Linked DNA regions of Homo sapiens: all the other regions are linked to region 1. Evidence: promoter capture Hi-C in human tissues and cell types (Jung and others, 2019). All regions are on one chromosome and are shown on one strand. The core of a region is centred on a gene start or on the middle of the fragment in contact, and the rest is flanking DNA. Distances in the headings are between cores, read along the strand shown.

What was found. The method cuts DNA at HindIII sites, captures the fragments that hold promoters and counts their contacts. A contact is called where the count stands out against the background at its distance.
Region 2: a contact is called between a fragment that was not itself captured here and the fragment with the promoter of SLC4A11 in region 1, in 2 of the 25 tissues and cell types used here (dorsolateral prefrontal cortex and liver).
Region 3: a fragment that was not itself captured here is called in contact with the fragment with the promoter of SLC4A11 in region 1 in 2 of the 25 tissues and cell types used here (dorsolateral prefrontal cortex and spleen).

What each region holds. Positions count from the first base shown.
Region 1 is chr20:3,237,220-3,240,957 of GRCh38, forward strand. SLC4A11 (solute carrier family 4 member 11) reads right to left here and starts at 1,971. Exons shown (of 20, transcript NM_001174089.2): 1 at 1,876-1,971; 2 at 325-369. The coding sequence starts at 1,918. RefSeq lists silencers at 1,781-1,960, 2,061-2,220. The HindIII fragment of the contact is 33,876 bases long and covers 1-3,738 here.
Region 2 is chr20:3,367,782-3,371,789 of GRCh38, forward strand. All of the region lies in intron 6 of DNAAF9 (dynein axonemal assembly factor 9), which reads right to left. Among named protein-coding and RNA genes, the nearest start is that of DNAAF9, 38 kb to the right of the region's middle. The HindIII fragment of the contact is 4,428 bases long and covers 1-4,008 here.
Region 3 is chr20:3,089,682-3,093,335 of GRCh38, forward strand. No RefSeq gene overlaps it. Among named protein-coding and RNA genes, the nearest start is that of AVP, 6.8 kb to the left of the region's middle. RefSeq lists enhancers at 2,901-3,401, 3,402-3,654. The HindIII fragment of the contact is 7,931 bases long and covers 1-3,654 here.

The DNA.
Region 1 (3,738 bases), core at 721-3,220:
GGACAGAGGGACAGGGGCACACAGAATTCTTGGCCCAAGGCTAGTCAGATAACAGGCCATTGTCACAGAAAACCTTGGGTAAGAATCCCAGAGGGTTCACCTGGTCCAAGTAGCCCAGGAGAATGGGCAGCCTGCCCTCTCAGGTCCACGGGGGATCCGCCCATGTCTAGCTTCCCGAAGAGTGGAAGCCAAAAGCATTCCAGCACTAGAGTGGCCCAGATAGGCGAGCAAAGCCACAGGACTCTGGTGGGTAGGCTATGCACCCTGGAGGCTTTTGCCCGACAAGCTCTCTCTGCACACACACACTCCCCGAGAGGTACTCACTTGAATCCTCGAAGTATCCATTCTGCGACATGGTGGGAGAGTTTTCTGCAAGGGAAGCAGAAAGGTCACCAGCCCCATGGACCAAGCCCTGGACCTCCTGTGTGCACCTGTCTCCCCGCCCCCCGACCTGGCTCATTCCTTCGCTCTTCCGAGGGATGCAACCCACGCCACCCTAGGGAGAAAGGGAAGCAGGGGACAGTGCTCGGGAGGGGGCCCCATAGCAGGGGAAGCCAGCCTTAATCTCAGAAATTCAATTGCTTAGCCCATCTGCTAGGGGCTGCCCAGGCGGGCCAGAGGCGAGGAGGAGAGACGTTCCAGGGATGTCTTCCCACCGAGTTAGTACCAGTACCATGTTCGCTAATCCAGGTTTTCCTGAGAAAACCCTGCCCCGCTGCAGCGAGAGGAAGGGACCGGGCCCGAGCGGGCCTCTCCCCCTCTCTCCTCGGATGCCAAGGCGGGGGATCTCTCTGCACATCCCTCTTCTCACTCTCAGACCGGTCCTGGGGGCCATAAACGCCCATTGCAGGCGCAGTTCCCCCGACCCCCGTCACGCGCCCCGGGTCACACGGGGGCCGACAGGCAACGGTCTCCAGTCCTGGGACCGCGTCCCGGCCGCCTGGAAGCCAGAGCCGTTGGTCCAAAAGGGAGAACAATTGGGGGTGGGAGGAGTATCTGAGGGACACATGGGTCGGGGGAGGCTGCGCCCTCCCTGGGCCGGTCCCCGGATGGTCCCGGCTGTTTGTGCCTCGCTGTCGGAGGAAGGAAGCGACAGGAGGGGCCGCGTGCACGAGAGGAAAGCGCCTCCAGACTCGGAGACCCCGGGGGTCGGGGCGCAGGATGTGAATGCAGGCGCGGGGCGGGAGCCGGGGCTGCATCCTGAAGTGGGGGGCGGGGGCGCTGGGGCGCGTCCCAGGCCGTGGGCGACGAGGGTCTGGGAGGGTTGGGCCGGTGCACACTCCGCTTCCGTCCCGGCGGCCCACGTGCAGGTAAAGGGTCGTACAAACCTGGGTCCTGGCGGGGACCCAGGGCTGGCCCTCCCGTGTCAGAGCAAGGGAGAAACCGCTGCGGCCGCGCAGGGCACGGTCAGGGGTCCCGGGACTCCCAAAACTCCAGGGGTTCCGGGGCTCCCACCGCGGCGCCGGACGGGAAGATGCCCGGGCGGAAGGTAAAATGAGACCTTCCGAGGCGGCGGCCCGCCAGGCTCCCAAAAGCTCGGCGCTCGGGGCGCTGGGAGCCCCACAGCTCCGCCCTGCCCACTTTCGAGCTCCCCGCCCTCGACCCGCTGCATCAGCTGTTCAAACCTGGTAAGAAATTCAAGACGGCGACAGCAGAGCCCTAATGAAACCAAGCGCGCGGTGGCCGCGAAGCCGCGCCCGGGCCTCCCGCACCCGCGCCCTCCTCCCCGCGGCTGGGAATCCCGCAGCCCTCTCGCCCACCGGCCCCGGCCCGCGCAGGCAGACGGCATCCGCGTTCTCCCCGGGGTCCCCGACGGGAGACGGTGGCGGAGACCCGGGCGGCCTTCCCGCCGCGCCCCCGGGTTCAGGCACCCACCGCACGGCTGCAGATGGAACACGCGCCTGGTGGCCGCGGCCATGGCACACTCGCGCACTCACGGCCGGGCTCCTCACGCGGCGCTCCGGCGCTTCTGGACCCCAAACTCGGCGACTCGGGCGGGCCGGCGGCGGGAGCCGGCGACACACCCCCACGCCGCGCCTGGGTCCTAATGCCGCTCAGACGCCGCGCCCGGGCGCGGTAGGCAGAGCTGCCGAGGGCTGGGACCCGGCCGCCCGCCCCGCGCCCTCACCCGCGGGAGGCTGCTCCAGCCGGGCTGGGCTGCTCCCCGCCGCCCGCAGCTGCTGGGCCAAACCGAGTAGACCCGGCTCCTTCGAGCCTGTGCGCGCCGGACCCAGCAGACCCAGCGTCGCGAGTTTAGGGGCTGGACGGGGCCGGGGAGCTTCTGGGAAAACGTTCGACTGCGCCACGAGCCCACCGAGCTGTGCGACTGAGGCAGACCCCGGGAGGGCTTCCCCCGCGTCCGCTTTAAGTACGCGGCCGGCCCCTGTCTCCTCCTTTCGACCGGGGACCTCCGCAGGGCCACGCCCGCTGGCTGCCCCGCCTCCTGCATTTATCCCGGTAGCTCCGGCCGCAAGTCCTTCTCCTCCTCCTCCAGGAAGCGCGCCCCGACTGACTAGACGGACCTCCGTGCATTCCCCGGGCTACGCCCTCGCCCGCTGAGACGGCGCTCTCCGAGCTCGGCTGCTTTGGGTTTTCGCTGCGAGCCTCGCCAACTTATCTGCCAGCCTCTTCACGTCCTCGGCCTTCTATGAGGTCAAGGTCATGGTTCGCCCCCTTTTTCCTTCCCCAAATGGCCCTTGCGCCCTGTCCCCTTTCCTGGACCGGCTGCGACCCGCCCGGGGACGCGCCTTTTCGGGGCGCTTAGTCTCCTGCGAGTAGGGCGTGTGCGCGTGTGGGTGCGCGTGCTGCGATGCGATCCGGCAAATGCAGCTGACGAACCCCTGGCCTGATCCACGGTGGCTCCCAGTAGAAGGCTCTACAGCCCTTGGAAACGGAACACGCAGCTCCGTAAAGCGCTAACCAACCTCCCGACCCCTCCGGCCGCCATCGCTTTCCGGCTCAGCCGCGCTGGGACGGAGTCCTCGGCCACTGTGCCCTAACCATGGTAGAGGAACGGGGACAGGCCGGGGCAAGCCCACCTCTGCGAAGGAAGGGCTTCTGGCGCGTTGGGGAAGCCTCATGCATAGATTGGGTGAGTAAGGCTGGCCCAGTTCTCCTCCCGGCAAGATAAGAACGCATTAGGAGGGAAGCGCTGGAGTGCTCCTCTTGGCGACGGATGGCCTGGGGCTCTGCGACAGACTGAGTACCCCACCCTCCCCCAGCGCGACTCCAGGAGGCCTTGTGGAAGATCCCAACACCATGACCTGCAACTGACTTGGGGCTGGCCACATAGTATTTTAGCAGGGGTGACTCTGGAGAGACACCAGGTCATCCTGCGCACCCCTTGGGACCTTTCCTAGACGCCCTCCAGCTAGAGCTCCAGTCCAGGCACTGACTCCCGGGTGGCGGGTGGAGGCTGAGGAAGAGCTGAAGGACACAGGCGGATGTCGCCCCCGGAGCATGGCTGCATAGGTGGCATGCAGGCTGGATCCCTGAAAAGCCACCTTGCCACCCCCAGTCTCCCCCATCTGGGAATGCCTTGGCTTCTGCACCTGCTCCCAGCAGCTCCCAAACACCTGGTCCTTCCAACCCACTTGTTCCAGGAAAGCCTCTGGGATGGAGGGCGCTTCCCCTTACCACAGTCTCCTCAGCGCTCCTCAAAGGACCTAACCCCTCAGCCCACTGAGGAAAGAGGAGCCCATGACCAAGCCGCCCCTAGTCGGCTATGGGCCCCCTCTG
Region 2 (4,008 bases), core at 821-3,320, 130 kb after region 1:
AAATGAAAAAGCTTGAAATATTATGAGAATTACCAAAATGCGACACAGAGACACAAAGTGAACACGTGCTGTTGGAAAATTGGAGCCAACAGGCTTGCTGGATGCAGGCTGCCACAAACCATCAATTTGTTTAAAAAAAAAAAAAAGCAATATCTACAAAGTGCAGCAAACCAAAGCACAATAAATTAAGATAGGCCTGTATGTGTTTTGCCAGTCTAACTGGTGAAAACAGGCACTGTTCTCAGCCCAGAACACACATCAGGCACTATCCTCGAATCCTTTCAGATAGGTTTCTCTTGACCTTGAGTAGTTACCACACACATGACTGCACTGATCAGTATTCTGCTGAGTACCGACTGGGGCAAGGGGAATCTTTGGACGGTTCTTTCCTCTTTAGTACTCTAACTGCTTTGGTCCCCGCAGACTCCCAGCTGCATCTCCTAACTCAGGGAGTGCGCTGGGCACCACCTGGATCCTCTCTTCTCTATGCTGTGTCTGGAAACTTTCTCAAAGTGATAAGCTAGTACCATCAAGGGGCTCACATTGATTGTTTCCGTCTCTCAGGGAATCAGGATTCCTCACTGCCTGATGCCTAGTTTGTGTTTTTGTTTTGGGGGGCTTTTGTTGGTTTGGGAACCAGTTTTTGTTGTTTTGTGGTGGGTGACTTGTTTTTTCTTCCTGGAAGCCTTTTTTTTTCTTTTTTGGCCAAACTTACTGACCAACTTCCTGGAAGCTTTTTTTTTTTTTTTGAGACAGAGTCTTGCTCTTTCGCCCAGGCTGGAGTGCAGTGGCATGATCTCAGCTCACTGAAAGCTCCGCCACCCAGGTTCACGCCATTCTCCTGCCTCAGCCTCCCGAGTAGCTGGGACTACAGGTGCCCGCCACCAAGCCCGGCTAATTTTTGTATTTTTTTTTTTAAGTAGAGACAGGGTTTCACCGTGTTAGCCAGGATGGTCTCGATCTCCTGACCTCGTGATCCCTCCGCCTCGGCCTCCCAAAGTGCTGGGATTACAGGCATGAGCCACTGCGCCCGGCCATCCTGGAAGCTTTTAAAGATATTCTTTCATCCAGGCTGGGTGCAGGTGGCTCACGCCTGTAATCCCAGCTTTCAGAAGCCGAGAAGGCAGATCACCTGAGGTCAGGAGTTTGGGACCACCCTGGCCAACAAGGTGAACCCCATTTCTCTAAAAATACAAAATTAGCCAGGCATGGTGGAGCATGCCTGTAATCCCAGCTTCTCGGGAGGTTGTGGCAGGAGAATCGTTTGCACCTGGGAGGCAGAGGTCGCAGTGAGCCAAGATCGTGCCATTGCACTCCAGCCTGGGCAAGGAGAGTAAAACTCTGTCTCAAAAAAAAAAAAAAGGATATTCTTTTATCCTTAGTGTCTGAAATGTCACGGACAGATTTAAGGGTTTTTTTTCCTCTTCCCATTCATACTTAAGTGATTTAATTTAAAACCTTTTATTTCTCTTTATGATTGGGAATGTTTATGTTTTAAAAAGATTTCTTCCCTTATGGTATCGTGGCCTCCTCTTTCCAGAAATTCTACTCATTGGATATTAGACTTCTTAGATCAGTCTTCTAACATTTAAAGTTAACTTTTTTTTTTTTTTCAGATGGAGTCTCGCTCTTTCGCCCAGGCTGGAGTGTAGTGGTGCGATCTCAGCTCACTGCAACCCCCACTTCCTGGGTTTAAGCAATTCTCCTGCCTCAGCCTCCCAGGTAGCTGGGACTACAGGCGTGTGCCACCACACCCGGCTACTTTTCTATTTTTAGTAGAGACGGGGGTCTCGCTGTGTTGACCGAGCTGGTCTTGAACTCCTGACCTCAAGTGATCTGCCTGCCTCAGCCTCCCAAAGTGCTGGGATTACAGGTGTGAGCCACCAAGCCCGGCCTAAAGTTAACTTTAAAGGTTAAAGTCTTTTAACTTTTTTATCAATATTTTCTATCTCCGTGATGTTTTTATTTTACCTTTCTAAGGAGTTTCCTAACTTTACCTTCCACCCCTCTATTGATTTTATCAATTATGATTTCCTAGAGCTCGTATTTTCCATACATTCAGTTATTACAACATTCACTTGTCCTATGGTTGACAAATCTTACATTTTTCTGGGCATCCAAAAAGAGTTTTATGTCAAGTTTTCTTCTATACCTTAAATTATCTTTGGGTCTTAATGAACTGGTCTTCTTTTAAAAAAAAAAATTGATCTTTTTCTTTTGAGTTACTGCTGTTTAATCAAATGTCTGGTGATCTTTGGCTTCCTATTCATACTTTGAAATGAGGCAATGAAAAGGCTAACTGGAAGGTGTATATTCCTGATAACTGTTATGCAGAGCTTCTATTACTGGGTCTCCATCCCCTTATATTCTACATGCCAAAATGTGAACAGGTTTACTCTCAGGAAGCAAAAACTACACTAGCCAATGAAATCTCTTGGTTTTGTCTTGCCTTTCAGTTTATTTATTTCATTTTTATTTATTTATTTTGAGACAGTGTCTCACTCTGTTGCTCAGGCTGGAGTGCAGTGGTTCAATCAGCCCACTGCAGCCTGGAGCTCCAGGGCTCAAGCTATCCTCCGGCCTCAGCCTCCCAAGTAGGTGGGACTGTAGGTACATGCCACTGTGCCTCGCTAATTTTTTTTTTTTTGAGATGGAGTCTCACACTGTCGTCCAGCTGGAGTGCAGTGGCATGATCTTGGCTCACTGCAGCCTCCACCTCCCAGGTTCAAGTGATTCTCCTGCCTCAGCCTCCTGAGTAGCTGGGATGACAGGTGCCTGCCACCATGCCCAGCTAATTTTTGTATTTTTAGTAGAGACGGGGTTTCACCATGTTGGCCAGGACGGTCCCGATCTCTTGACCTCATGATCCACCCGCCTCAGCCTCCTAAAGTGCTCAGATTACAGGCTTGAGCCACCGCGCCCAGCCGTGCCCGACTAATTTTTTTAAAATTTTTTTGTTGCCAGGCTGGTCTTGAACTCCTGGCTTCACGCGATCCTCCCGCCTTGGCCTCCCAAAGTGCTAGGCTTGATTACAAGTGTGAGCCACTCACCAGGCCCTTTTCAGTTTTTTTACAAAACCTCCACCCAAATCTCTTCTTTGTTTTTCCTAGGGTGGAGGTGGCATCTGCAAATGCCTGGTTGACTGTCACTTGAGGGGAGAGGAGAGCGGTAGAGGGAGGTACAGACTATTACATAACAACCTTTAATTTAATTCTTTCCTTTCAATATCACCAATTTCCATTCTCTATTCTCCACTTCATCATCTTCCTTCCCATTGCTTTAATCTACTTGGCCCCTTCCTCTGTATTCTGGAAAAGCTTTTCAAGTGTGTCAACTGATTAGATTTTTTATATCTTTTTTTAATGTAAGTTTTCATTCTACTAATAAATTTTGAGACTTCCTACAATCTTTTCTTATATGTCTTCCATCTCCCTTTTTAATTTTGATTGCTCACCTCATTGCTAGATCTCATTTCTCTTTTTATAAATTCTGTTCCTAAAAAGTACCAAAAAGAGAAATTTTCTCAATTATTTTTGTTCCTTGAAGAAAATCTTTTTTTTTTTTTTTTTTTTTTTTTTTGAGACTGGAGTCTCGCTCTGTGGCCCAGGCTGGAGTGCAGTGGCGCTATCTCGGCTCACTGCAAGCTCCGCCTCCCGGGTTCCCGCCATTCTCCTGCCTCAGCCTCCCGAGTAGCTGGGACTACAGGCGCCTGCCACCACGCCCGGCTAATTTTTTGTATTTTTAGTAGAGACGGGGTTTCACCGTGTTACCCAGGATGGTCTCGATCTGCTGACCTCGTGATCCGCCCGCCTCGGCCTCCCAAAGTGCTGGGATTACAGGTGTGAGCCACCGCGCCCGGCAGAAAATCTTTTTTTAAAGCATGCTGATCTATCCCTGCATCTAATATGTTGTGGTCTCTTTCTTACATTTTGTTGACCCTTTTCCTAATTCTTATTCTATCTTTCAATATGAAGATCTATTTGTCCATAAACAGATGAATGAATGCTC
Region 3 (3,654 bases), core at 209-2,708, 150 kb before region 1:
CCGGCCACACTTATCCTTTTCTGAAACACACTTTGTTTGGTTCCACCGATGCTACACTCTCTTGGTTTTCCTTCTGTTACACCGGGTGTTCTCTCTGTCTCCGTTTCTGGCTCCTTCTCTTTGACCTTGACTTCTAAACGTTGGAGCATCCCAGGAATCAGTCCTGTGTCCCTTCTCTTCCTGGGTGATCCCACAATTTTATATACTTACTACAAGCTAATAATTCCCAAACTGGTATTTCCATCCTGGGCCTCTCCCCAAAGAGCCAGACTTATAGTTTCAACTGCCCAGTGACACCTCACATTGGATATCCAATAGGCTTCTCCAACTTAACAAAGTCAACACGCAACTCCAGATTCTCAGCTGTTTCCCTGCTCTTCCAGGGTTCCCACCTGTGTGATCTTACCACCATCCAACCAGCTGCTCCTCCCAGAACCTGAGACTCACCCTGGGTCTTCTCTTTCCCTCACTGTTGCTTATGTTACCTCTAAAATCAGTCTCAACTCCAACTGCTGCTTTGGGATCTGAGATCCTGCTGTTTCCGTGTCCTGGAAGATTCCTCTACCCGCACCCTCCCCAGGATTCATTTGATTGGTTTAAATGGCATCTCTTAAGAGGAGGCTCCCCTGACTGCCCTATCTAGAGCATCCCCCATCTCTGTTATCTTCTGTCTGGGACTATGTTGATGAATTTCATAGCACCTACTGCAATTCACAATTCATTTTTTGTGTGTCTATCTTTTTGTGTGTGTATGCCTATAACCCCTTTAAAATGAAACACCAGGGCAGAAAGGAAGGACTCTACCTTTCATGCTCAGTACGGTAACCCCACTCCAGGTAGAGGGTGTTCAATAAATTATGGAAAGAAGGAAGGGAAGCTCTGGGTACCAGCTTCAGCTCTCCAGGGAGTTCTGTGTGACCCAGGGCAAGTCACACCTGTTCCCAAGGTTATTTACTTGAAGTACTAACCCCACTTCCTGTCCCACTGAGGTCTTAAGGGAATCAGATGAGGGTGCCATAAAGGGTTAAGATTTCTGCAATCCTTACATAATAAAACGTGGCAAGCCTCCAGATGAAACCCCAAATGTCAGAATGTTCTATAAAGTACTTCCTTACCCTTAGACCACCTTTTCTGAGAAGAAGTAACAGTTAACTAATCTTAGCAGAGCATCTGCCCTGCCCACACCTTCTGTTTCTTATTCCCCTGCTGTATATACCATAGAACATCTCCACTACTGCCAGAGAGGGCATGGCCTCATTTTCTTTCTATCTTTTTTCCTTTTTAATTTTTTTTTTTTTTTTTTTTTTTTTTGTAGAGATGAGGGTCTCACTGTGTTGCCCAAGCTAGTCTCAAACCCCTGGTCCCAAGTAATCCTCCCACCTTGGCTTCCCAAAGTGCTGCAATTACAGGCGTGAGCCACTGTGCCTGGCCATTGGCTTCATGTTCTTTTTCTTTTCTTTTCTTTTTTTCTTTTTCTTTTTTTTTTTTTTTTTTTTTGAGACAGTGTCTCGCTCTGTCGCCCAGGCTGGAGTGCAGTGGTGCGATCATGGCTCACTGCAAACTCTACCTCCTGGGCTTAAGAGTGATCCTCCCACCTCAGCCTCCCGAGTGGCTGGAACCACAGCACCATGCCCAGCTAATCTTTGTTTTTGTGCAGACAGGATTTCACCATTTTCCCCAGGCTGGTCTCAAACTCCCGAGCCCAAATGATGTGCCCACCTTGACCTCCCAAAGTGCCGGGATTACAGGCATGAGCCACCGTGCCTAGCTGGCTTCATTTTCAAAAGAACACTGCTGGTAGCAGTAAGTCCAGCTTTCTCTCTTTTCACCTGTTGGCTCACTGCAACCTCCGCCTCCCGGGTTCAAGCAATTCTCGTGCCTCAGCCTCCCTAGTAGCTGGGATTACAGATGCTCACCACCATGCCTGGCTAATTTTTGTATTTTTTGTAGAAATGGGCTTTCACCATGTTGGCCAGGCTGGTCTCGAACTCCTGACCTCAAGTGATCCGCCTACCTCTGCCTCCCAAAGTGCTGGGATTACCGGTGTGAGCCACGGCGCCAGCCTCCAGTAGTATTTTTGAGGACCCACACAAATGCTCTGTAAACTATGAAGAGGGGAACAAGAGCAAACAAAAGATGTTGTGGGAGCCCAAGACCTGCTTACTGAATTGAATCAAAGAGGATACATTGAGCAGGGATGAGAAACCTCTGAGAAAAATGCTGAGCCTGAGGGGACAGGTATGGAACTGAAATGGATCCACTGCAGGACCAAGTAAAAAAGGGCGGGGGAGGCCTTCTGCTCTTTCCAGACCAAGGCACATCTCAGCTGGATTGAAGAGCTAAATAGAATAAAATCAGCCGACAAGCTGGGCGCGGTGGCTCATGCCTGTAATCCCAACACTTTGGGAGGCCGAGGCGGGCAGATCACGAGGTCAGGAGTTCAAGACCATCCTGGCCAACATGGTGAAACCCCGTCTCTACCAAAAATACAAAAAAAAATGAGCTGGGCATGGTGGTGCGCGCCTGCAGTCTTAGCTGCTTGGGAGGCTGAGGCAGGAGAATCACTTGAACCCAGGAGGCGGAGGTTGCAGTAAGCCAAGATCGCGCCACTGCACTCCAGCCTGGGCGACAGAGTGAGACTCCGTCTCAAAAAAAAATCAGCTGACGAGGGCCGGGGAGCGGCGGGGAGGGGATGCGGGAAGCCAGGTCTGAATATTTATCGTATCTCTAGAGGGGGGTTACATTAAACTTTTAAAAGAAATCAGAAATGAAAAGACAATAAAAATTCTTTAACTTGCAAAAATAACCTAAGTAAAAGGCAAAATAAACGAAGAAAAATATTTTTGACAAACTCGTTTCTATATGGAAAACCTGTACGGCAGCAAGACCTGTAGACTCGCATCTAGAGACGCTCAACCCTAGCTCCGTGTTCCAAGTGACGTGGCCTGTCGCACCCGCCGGGGACAATGACTGCGGCCCTGGGGTCCCACAGACGTTCCCTTTGCTAGACTTAAGGAAGAGCTAGGCCTGTCCGCGCTCCCAGCCCCCACGCAGCCAGACACCCGCGGGTGCTGAGATGAAGAGTGAAGTCACCAGGAGAGACAGGAAACAGCGCGGGCCTCGGGGACCCGAGGGCGCGGAAGCTCGGGGGCCGGGGTCGAGCACAGATTGGGAGGCGCAGCGCTGGGCGCACGTCCCCGTCGGCCCGGCGGCCCCTAATGAGGCGCGCTGTGCGCAGACTGCTAAGAGCAGCATGAGCACGGCTCCGGCGGCCCCCAGGGCCCCGCGGGTCGGCGCCACCCCGGAGCGCGGTGCCCGGAATCACTTAGCGCCATCAGCCGGGCGGCTGGGAGGGGGAAGCGGCCGATCCGGGCGGCTGGGAGGGGGAAGCGGCCGATCCAGGCGGCAGCGGAGGGGGCTGCAGCGGAGGCGGCCCCGGCTTGCACGCTCGCCCTTCCGCCTGCCCGGCAGGGCCCCGTCTGAGCCCCAGGCCCCAGGCCCAGCGGCGCCGCTCGCCGGTGAAGGAAACCAGCGCAGAGAGGCCGCGCTGCCAGGCGCGTGGTGGTCCGGGGGTCCACGTGTGAGCCTCGCCCTAGGCTGCCAATTGAGAGTTCCACCTCCGCCCAGAGAGACCCCACCTCACCCCTCCAACCT